Regions from separate parts of the Homo sapiens genome. Here region 2 is linked to region 1. The links are contacts of gene promoters, found by promoter capture Hi-C in blood cells and fetal thymus (Javierre and others, 2016). All regions are on one chromosome and are shown on one strand. The core of a region is centred on a gene start or on the middle of the fragment in contact, and the rest is flanking DNA. Distances in the headings are between cores, read along the strand shown.

The links. The method cuts DNA at HindIII sites, captures the fragments that hold promoters and counts their contacts. A CHiCAGO score of 5 or more calls a contact.
Region 2: a fragment that was not itself captured here is called in contact with the fragment with the promoter of TMEM220 in region 1 in 4 of 17 cell types (endothelial precursors, M0 macrophages, megakaryocytes and 1 more); the score reaches 10.1 in endothelial precursors.

Annotation. Positions count from the first base shown.
Region 1 is chr17:10,728,382-10,732,486 of GRCh38, forward strand. It overlaps TMEM220 (transmembrane protein 220), which reads right to left and starts at 1,642. Exons shown (of 6, transcript NM_001004313.3): 1 at 1,399-1,642; 2 at 650-679. The coding sequence starts at 1,470. It overlaps TMEM220-AS1 (TMEM220 antisense RNA 1), which reads left to right and starts at 1,396. Exons shown (of 4, transcript NR_073458.1): 1 at 1,396-1,519. RefSeq lists enhancers at 1,094-1,680, 1,681-2,267 and silencers at 1,281-1,450, 1,461-1,700. The HindIII fragment of the contact is 4,877 bases long and covers 1-4,105 here.
Region 2 is chr17:11,990,372-11,994,451 of GRCh38, forward strand. It overlaps ZNF18 (zinc finger protein 18), which reads right to left. Exons shown (of 7, transcript NM_001303281.2): 2 at 2,072-2,540; 3 at 603-792; 4 at 91-179. The coding sequence starts at 2,458. Among named protein-coding and RNA genes, the nearest start is that of ZNF18, 5.1 kb to the right of the region's middle. RefSeq lists an enhancer at 920-1,574. The HindIII fragment of the contact is 546 bases long and covers 1,558-2,103 here.

The sequences.
Region 1 (4,105 bases), core at 392-2,891:
CACTGCAACTTCTGCCTCCTGGGTTCCAGCGAGTCTCCTGCTTCAGCTTCCCTAGTAGCTGGGGACTACAGGCGCATGCCACCACGCCTGGCTAATTTTTGTATTTTTTGGTGGAGACGGGGTTTCACCATGTTGCTCAGGCTGATCTAGAACTCCTGACCTCAAGTGATCCACCCGCCTTGGCCTCCCAGAGTGCTGAGATTGCAGGCGTGAGCCACCTTGCCCAGCCAGGAGTTAATACTTTCTAGAAATATAAGTCACTGAATTAGCAGAACCTCAGAACTTAAGCCTGTTATTTTCCGGTCAAAGGTTTGCATTGAGTGTCTGGCTAGAAACTCATAAGGAATTGTTCAACTGATCTTGAGAGGCCTACTCTAGGTCCTCAAGAAAGTCCTCAGTTGGGCCATCTAACCAAAGGGAATACTGCAGAAAGACCTGTTTCCAGAAAGTTCGAAATTCACACACACATTACATTAGAACTCTGATCCTGCCTATTAATATTTTAGGAAAAAGCGCTTCCCAAGGGTTTGATTTTTAAGTTTCTCAGAAAATTAAGCAGGGAGGAGGGGTAAAGACATAAAACCGTGTGTTTTGTGCCGTTCCCCAATTCTTCCAAACGGAGGAAAGCCTGGAAGCGGCTCATACTCACCACCCACACCTCTGCATCTGGGTCATTTACCTGGAACGCCAGAATACCAAGGTGTTAGCAGACATCCTGTGCTGTTCCATTCCTTTTAAATTCATTTAAGCACATTTTTTATTAATTTGTTAAGTGCCAGACACTGCAATAGGCATCGAGGGTACAAAATCTGAACAGGATATAGTCCAGATGAGGACGGGTGAAGGGGTTTCTGGCTGACACAACAGATGTTTTTAACAGGCAGCCACACATTTTTGAAAAGCCTTCACGGGAGCTCTGGAGAGGACTCGCCAACCCAGAACGGGTATTTTAAGGGCCCTCCACCCCCACCAGTCTCAAGAAATGAGGGAAATGATTATGAAGGGGGTCCCCAAGCCGACTAAAAAGTTTAATGATGCTATAAAGGGTTTTGGTCGGCTTCGTCTCCTAGGCCCTGAGATATGTTCAGTGTCGTCCGCGGGCCGGACGTTAACGCAGGAGCCAGGGCCGCTTCTTCTGAGGTCCCCTGGGAAGTTCCACGCGCGGAACCAGCCCCTTCCAGGGTGTGAGCCCTGGTATGGGACTCGCTTCCATGAACACATCCGCGTCTCTTAGACGGGGGAGAAAGTGGGGGCTCCCCAAGCAGAAAGCCCAAGTCCCGTCCTCCCCACTAACTGTGCGCCCCTGCGACTCTGCCCGCTAGTCAGTTACACGGCCCGCTAGGCCAGGGGGCGGAGCTGGGAGCCGGGCGGGTCCCCCTCCCACCGCGGCCGCCTGACCTGCACCAAGGCCGCCAGCGCGAAGAAGGCGGCCATGAGTCCGTTGCAGGCCCGCCACAGCGCTGGCGCCATGGCTCGGAGAACACGGCGCGGGGCGGTGAGTCCTGCCACGTGCGGGGCGGTGAGTCCTGCCACGTACGGTCCGCCTTCCTCCTTGCGCGGAGGGACCGAGACCCCCGCCTCGGTTTCGGTGCCTTGGGGACACTGCCGTGGCCGTCGCTCCGCCCGGGGGCGGGGAGCGAAGGGCGTGGGTGTAGCCCCCACTCAGCGACCCATTCAGCCCGCCCCGAACGCCGCGGGGTGTAGGCGGCGCCGTCCTGGTTTCGCGGATGGGAAAGCGAGTCCCTCAGGGAGCGCAGGTCTCGGTGGTGGACGGAAGTCGAATTTGAACCCGTATAGGTTCAACTCCAAACCCTGTTTTCACTAAAGCTACCTTCCTCACAAAAAAAAAAAAAAAGAAGAAAGAAAAAAAAGAAGGAAAAAAGGAAGGAAGGCAGGCGGGAGGGGAGAGAGGAAGAAAGAGAAAGAAAGAAAAAGAAAGAAGGAAAGAAAGGGCTGGGCGCAGTGGCTCACGCCTGTAATCCCAGCACTGTGGGAGGCCGAGGTGGGCGGATCACCTGAGGTCAGGAGTTCGAAAGCAGCCTGGCCAACATGGTGAAACCCCGTATCTCTACTAAAAATACGAAAAAATTAGTCGGGCGTGGTGGCGGGAGCCTGTAATCCCAGCTACTCAGGAGGCTGAGGCAGGAGAATTGCTTGAACCCGGGCGGCGGAGGTTGCAGTGAGCCCAGATTGTGCCACTGCACTCCAGCCTGGGCAACAAAGCGAGACTCCTCAAAAAAAAAAGGATAAAAATTGTTTTTACAAAAATAAGAAAGAGAAAGAAAAAGAGATGTGTGTGTGTGTGTGTGTGTGTGTGTGTGTGTGTGTGTGTGTGTTCTGTTTAGTATTTATGCATTTCCTTCCAAAGCTCAGGAACTTTCAAATCCCTGTAAGCATTATGGTAATTTCTAGAGTGACGACAGTTATATTAACATCTTATACGGCTCACAGCTTTTCGGCAGACAGGCTCATTTATCTTCATGGGCTTTTATTATAAAAGATATTTACATATTATACATATTTACAATTCTCTCCCACCACCAAAACCAACAAAATTTCCAAAATTGCTCATGAATTTCTTATGAACCGAAGACACTGAAATATTCACTGTTCTCCCCTAGTCTGTCTGGTCTTTTTCTGTTTTGTAATTCGCCCTTCTGCTTAGTTCCTCCCCGGGCTCATTTACACATCCATAGGCCTCATTTCTGCTGTTCTAAAGAGTCTTTATCGCTTCAAATCAGGAGCTTCTGTGCCTGTCCTCTTTTCCTTTGAGCTAAATCTCCTAAAACTGTCTAGTTTTTTTTTTCTTTCCCTCTCAGTTTCATTCTTTTCACGAAACACTTATTTCAAGAACGTTGTCTGCTCTGTGCCTGGTGCTGGGACCGTGAAGGTCCCGTGCCGGGACTAGGCAGGGAGCCTGGCGGCTGGCGGGGGTGGGCACCCGTGTTTGCAGAGGTGGGGTGGGGACAGCGGGGACCAGCACTGGGTGGAGTTCCACAGCTAAATCAGCCCTGGGATTGGAAACAAGCGAAGACTATTCTCACTGTGCTTTTCCTTACATAAAAGAAAAAAATGAGAGCGAGAGTGCTAGGGGCTGACTTGCATTCCCCCTGCACCCCCAATTCATATGCTGAAGCCCTAACCCCCAGTGCCTCAAAATGGGACTGCATTTGCAGACAGGGACTTGACAGAGATGATTAAGTTAAAATGAGGTTATAGGGTGGACCCTAATCCAATATGACTAGTGTCCTGATACGAAGAGGGGACAGTTACAGAGGGAAGACCACATGGGCACACAGGGAGAAGACGGCCGTCTGCAAGCCAAGGGGAGAGGCCTCATGAGAAACCAACCCTACCAACATCCTGAATTTGGACTTCCAGCCTCCAGAACTGTGAGAAAATAAATTTCCGTTGTTTAAGCCACCTAGACTGTGGTACTTTGTTGGGACAGTCCTAGCAAATTAATACAGGGAATGATTATAATACCCACAAGGAAACAATGGCATGGAAGTGCTTTTAAGCTCTTGAATGCCATACAACCACCATGAAGTTTTATAGTTTTCACTGTTGTCTGGGACTTTCTTTTTTTATTTCTATTTTTTTGAGACAAAGTCTTGCTCTGTTGCCCAGGCTGGAGTGCAGTGGCACGATCTCAGCTCACTGCAACCTCTGCCTCCTGGGTTCAAGTGATTCTCCTGCCTCAGCCTCCAGAGTAGCTGGGACTACAGGCGCCCACCACCATGCTGGGCTAATTTTTGTATTTTTTTTAGTAGAGATGGAGTTTCACCATATTGGCCAGGCTGGTCTCGAATTCCTGACCTCATGATCTGCCTGCCTCGGCCTCCCACAGTGCTGGGATTACAGGCATGAGCCACTGCACCCGGCTGGGACTTTCAAAGTCACCTTAGTGAGCGTCTGTTGGTTTTGCCTTTGCAGGGTTCAGTCCCCTTTCTTCGAGGATCAGTGTCTTTAGTACTGTGGATTACCACATGCACTATGGGTGGATGTGGACTACAGGGTTGACCGTGCTCCCCTCCTTTTGGGGATAGGCAGGTGACTTTGGCCTGCCAGCTGACATATCCCATTCTGTTGACCACTGTGATTG
Region 2 (4,080 bases), core at 581-3,080, 1.3 Mb after region 1:
CAGGATGGAGAATGGGGTGAAGAGAAGCAGGAGGATGAGATTATAAAAGGTAAAAAGTTTCCTTTTCATCGCTTTTGTACGTCAGCTCACCTGAGGTGCTGCTGGGAGCAGTGAGGCTCCGAGGTCCTGGTCTCTGATCAGCCTTTCCTCCAGTCGGGCAGGCTGGGAGGCAGCCAGGGCTGAAGTGAGGAGAGGAAGTTTTCAGAATCTGGATGTCTTCCTTAACCACTCCCCAGAGGGCGCAGATAACAATCTTCACAAATCAGAACAATACCTGAACAATACCTGTACTGCCATCTATATTTCAAGACTTGTGTTTATCTCCCTGACACACTCCAACCCCCTCCAACATTCCAGTCTCACCCATATGTTCTCCCACCTCCTTCCTCAGAGCCAAAATCCAAATGGTCTGGCCCAGTCATAAAGCAGTTTAAAACACAGACTTTGACTCTCCAAACAAGAGCGGTTTATTTAGGTCTAACCTGTTTGCAAACCTCTCAGGGATACGCCAATCTGAGCAGCATACCATTTCAACTCACTTAGGCCTACTAATCACAATCCCAAAATCTCTCCAAGAGAACACCACACAGCACCATCCTCACCTAGTTCTGCTTCTGTGTCAGATTCCTCTTTCACGATGTGGCTCAGAAGCTCCCCAGGCCCTGAGGATGAATTCTCAAGTCCCAACTCCTGAGGCACCACTTCAAGATGGGGCTCCACTTCCCCCACTTGGCAGCTTGGAGATTCCATCTTCTCTGATAAGATGTCCTGTCCTAGAACCTGGATACTGATCTAGAGACCATATATTAATTAGTAATTACTGAAGAATCCAGAGTAAGGATCTCTAAAAGACACAAAGCTTACTCTCTACAACAGATCATAAGACAATTTCTAAGGATGTGGAGAAAGAGAAAACCAGCTTTTATTTCTAGTCCAGCAGGAACCAGGGAAAGAAACGTCCCAAAAGACACCAAAAGCTGAGGCCCGAATCAGGCGTGGGAGACCTTCAAGACATGCCACTAACGTGCTTCTACTGGATATGCGCCACCAATGAAAACTCAGGCATCTTTTAAATAACTTCTCAAACATTCTAGTCTAAAGGTGGAATGCGCTGGGAGACTTTACCCTCAATCCTCAATAGCTAAAGAGTGTTGAGAGTCAGAGAGTGTTAGAATTACGTGAGGTATGGGGGAACCCAGCTGTGGTATAATAAGAAATACACATTTAGTCTTTGTCCCCAGTTCCCATTCCCGCAGAGCTCCTAAAACCCTGGTAATTTCTTGAGGGACAGGTGAAAGAAGAGTCTTTGTTATTCATAAGGAGCCCTTCTCAACCACACCTGAGTTTATGCTAGGCTCCTAGATAGCTTCAGGATGGGGGCTGGTTGCCAGAGGAACCAACCTTGAGATTAAAAGGTTGGAACTTTCAGTATCTCCACCCAGCTTCTGAGGAGGGGAGGGCAGCTGGAGATACTCAATCACCAACGGCAAATGACTGTATCAAGTGTGCCAAAGCAGTGAAGCCTCCATAAAAATCCCTAAACCATGAGGTTCAGGAAGCTTCCAGGTTGGTGACCTCATGGAGGTACTGGTAACGTAGCACGCCAGGAGAAGCATGGAAGCTCCACGCTCTTTCCCCCACACCTTGCTCTATGCAGCTCTTCTCTCTGGCTGTTAATGAGTTGTATCCTTTAGAGTAAGTCAGTAACAGGAAGTAAAATCCTTCCCTGAGTTCTGTAAGTCATTCTAACTAATTATCAAACTTGAAGAGAAGACTGTGGGAACCTCCGAATTTATAGCCAATTTGTCAGAAGTACAGGTGGCCCCTGGGACTTGTGACTGGCATCTGAGAACAGGAGCAGTCTTGGATTGAGCCCTGAACCTCCAGAGTTAGCTTCAGAACTGAATTGCTGGACACTGTACTGGTGTTAGAGAATCACAGAATTGGCCATTGGTGTGAAAAGCCCCACCCATTTTGTGTCATAAGTGGTATCAGAAAAAAGACAACACACCTGATGGGACCAGAGAGGAGCCCTGTGTTTCACTCGCAGATCATAATACCCTCTGCTTACCCATTGCCACAGTCTCTGGGGGTCCCCCTTCAAGCTTTCCACAAGGGTCACTGCCTCTTCTCCACTTCCTGGACACTGTTTCCGCACCCACATCTGGATCTCCCCAGGCAGGATGGTCAGAAACTGCTCCAACATGAGGATCTCTAGGATCTGCTCTTTGGTGTGAACCTCTGGCTGTAGCCACTGGAAACAGAGCTTCCGAAGTTGCTTCAAGGTCTCATGAGGCCCAGACATCACCTGGTAACGGAACTGCCTGAAAAGCTGGCGTGCGGTCTCAGGGCTGGAGAGTTCCTCTTGAAGGGCAGCATCTGATTCTGAGAACTGGGAGTCCTCGGCCTTCGCCAGCGATGGCAGCAGGCCTAGGGCCTGCCCCAAGTCAACGGGCATTGTCCAGCCTGGCAAGTCCTTTTAAGTAAAGTGCTTCTGCAGTGGAATTGTCTCCGGCAAGAACTAGGTCTTCACCAGGACACTAAAAAGGGAATGAGATTGAGTGCTACACAGAGGAAGGGGACACATTTTCAGAAAGAACAAATTCACATGCCCTACCCGAGAAGCCATGGGGTCAACTATGGAGCTTTTGAAATTGCTCAATGGATACACGATTCTATTTTGAAAGATTATAAACTTGAAGCCACAAAGCAAACTACTGATACTGTATCTAAACAGCCACCATTTCCCTGCCCATTTTATAATGTTCTTTCTTGGTCTTCAAATGTCCAGACAAAATGAAGAATAAAATGCACCATACGAAACTTTTTCACTATAGGTTTCCAGGTAAACGGCTCTTCTACAAAACACTTCTACATCTTCATCTATATATCTGCATACTAAAAAATAAAGCTGGAAAAAGATATTAATGCCCTAGGAATAAAAGCTAATGCCTACATGCTTCTGTAATAAATAGGAGGTTAAAGAGAACAAGTTAAGTCTTCCAAAAGGTACCAAAAGTACTTCCAAAAGTATACCAAAAAGGTGTAATGAAACTTCCAAGAGAGGTCTTTTGAGTGCCATATTAAAATAGGTCTATTTGAGAATTTATGAAAAAAACAAGTATCATACCTGACACTTTCAACCTTGGGGTTAAAGAGGGTGAGAAGGCTGGGCATGGTGGCTCACGCCTGTAATCCCAGCACTTTGGGAGGCCGAGGCAGGTGGATCACGTGGTCAGGAGATCGAAACCATCCTGGTTAACACGGTGAAACCCCGTCTCTACTAAAAAAAAATACAAAAAATTAGCCGGGCATGGTGGCGGGCACCTGTAGTCCCAGCTACTCAGGAGGCTGAGGCAGAAGAATGGGGTGAACCCAGGAGGTGGAGCTTGCAGTGAGCCAAGATCGCGCCACTGCACTCCAGCCTGGGGGACAGAGAGAGACTCCGTCTCACAAAAAAAAAAAAAAAAAAAAAAAAGAGGGTTGAGAAGACTAACTACCTTGAAAATACTCCTATGGTGTTGATATAAATAATCACTATTTTATGTGAATGGTATCAAATTTTAGAAGATCACAACTAAGACAGTAGAAAGAGAAATATTAAATCGCAAATAATATTATTCTAAAAAGGATCATCCACTACTTCTAGTTAACTTTCTTGCAAGTAATCACAATATAGGATTACTGGGTAAATCCTTAAATGTTATGAAGAATTTGGTGGTCATCATTTCTCCCTAAGACTAATCACAGCAATTTTTAAAAAAAGATACCCCATCACTTGAGGATCTGGCTTAATCAGAGATCAGTACAATACTCTAGCTTTTTGTAGCTGCTTATTTCTTAAGGTGTAGGAAACAATGTCTTCATCCTTACCGTTTCACCAAAATAATTTATCCGACATTGGAAAATCATTTAAAAACTAAAAAAGAAAAACAATTTTTTTTCAAGGGCCTGAGAAAGGAAAAAGCGAAGTCAAAAGAATTACAGTTGACCATTGAATAATGCAGGAGATAGGGGCGCCAACCCCCCACACAGTAGAAAATCCATATATAACTTCTGATTCCCCAAAAGCTTAGCAGT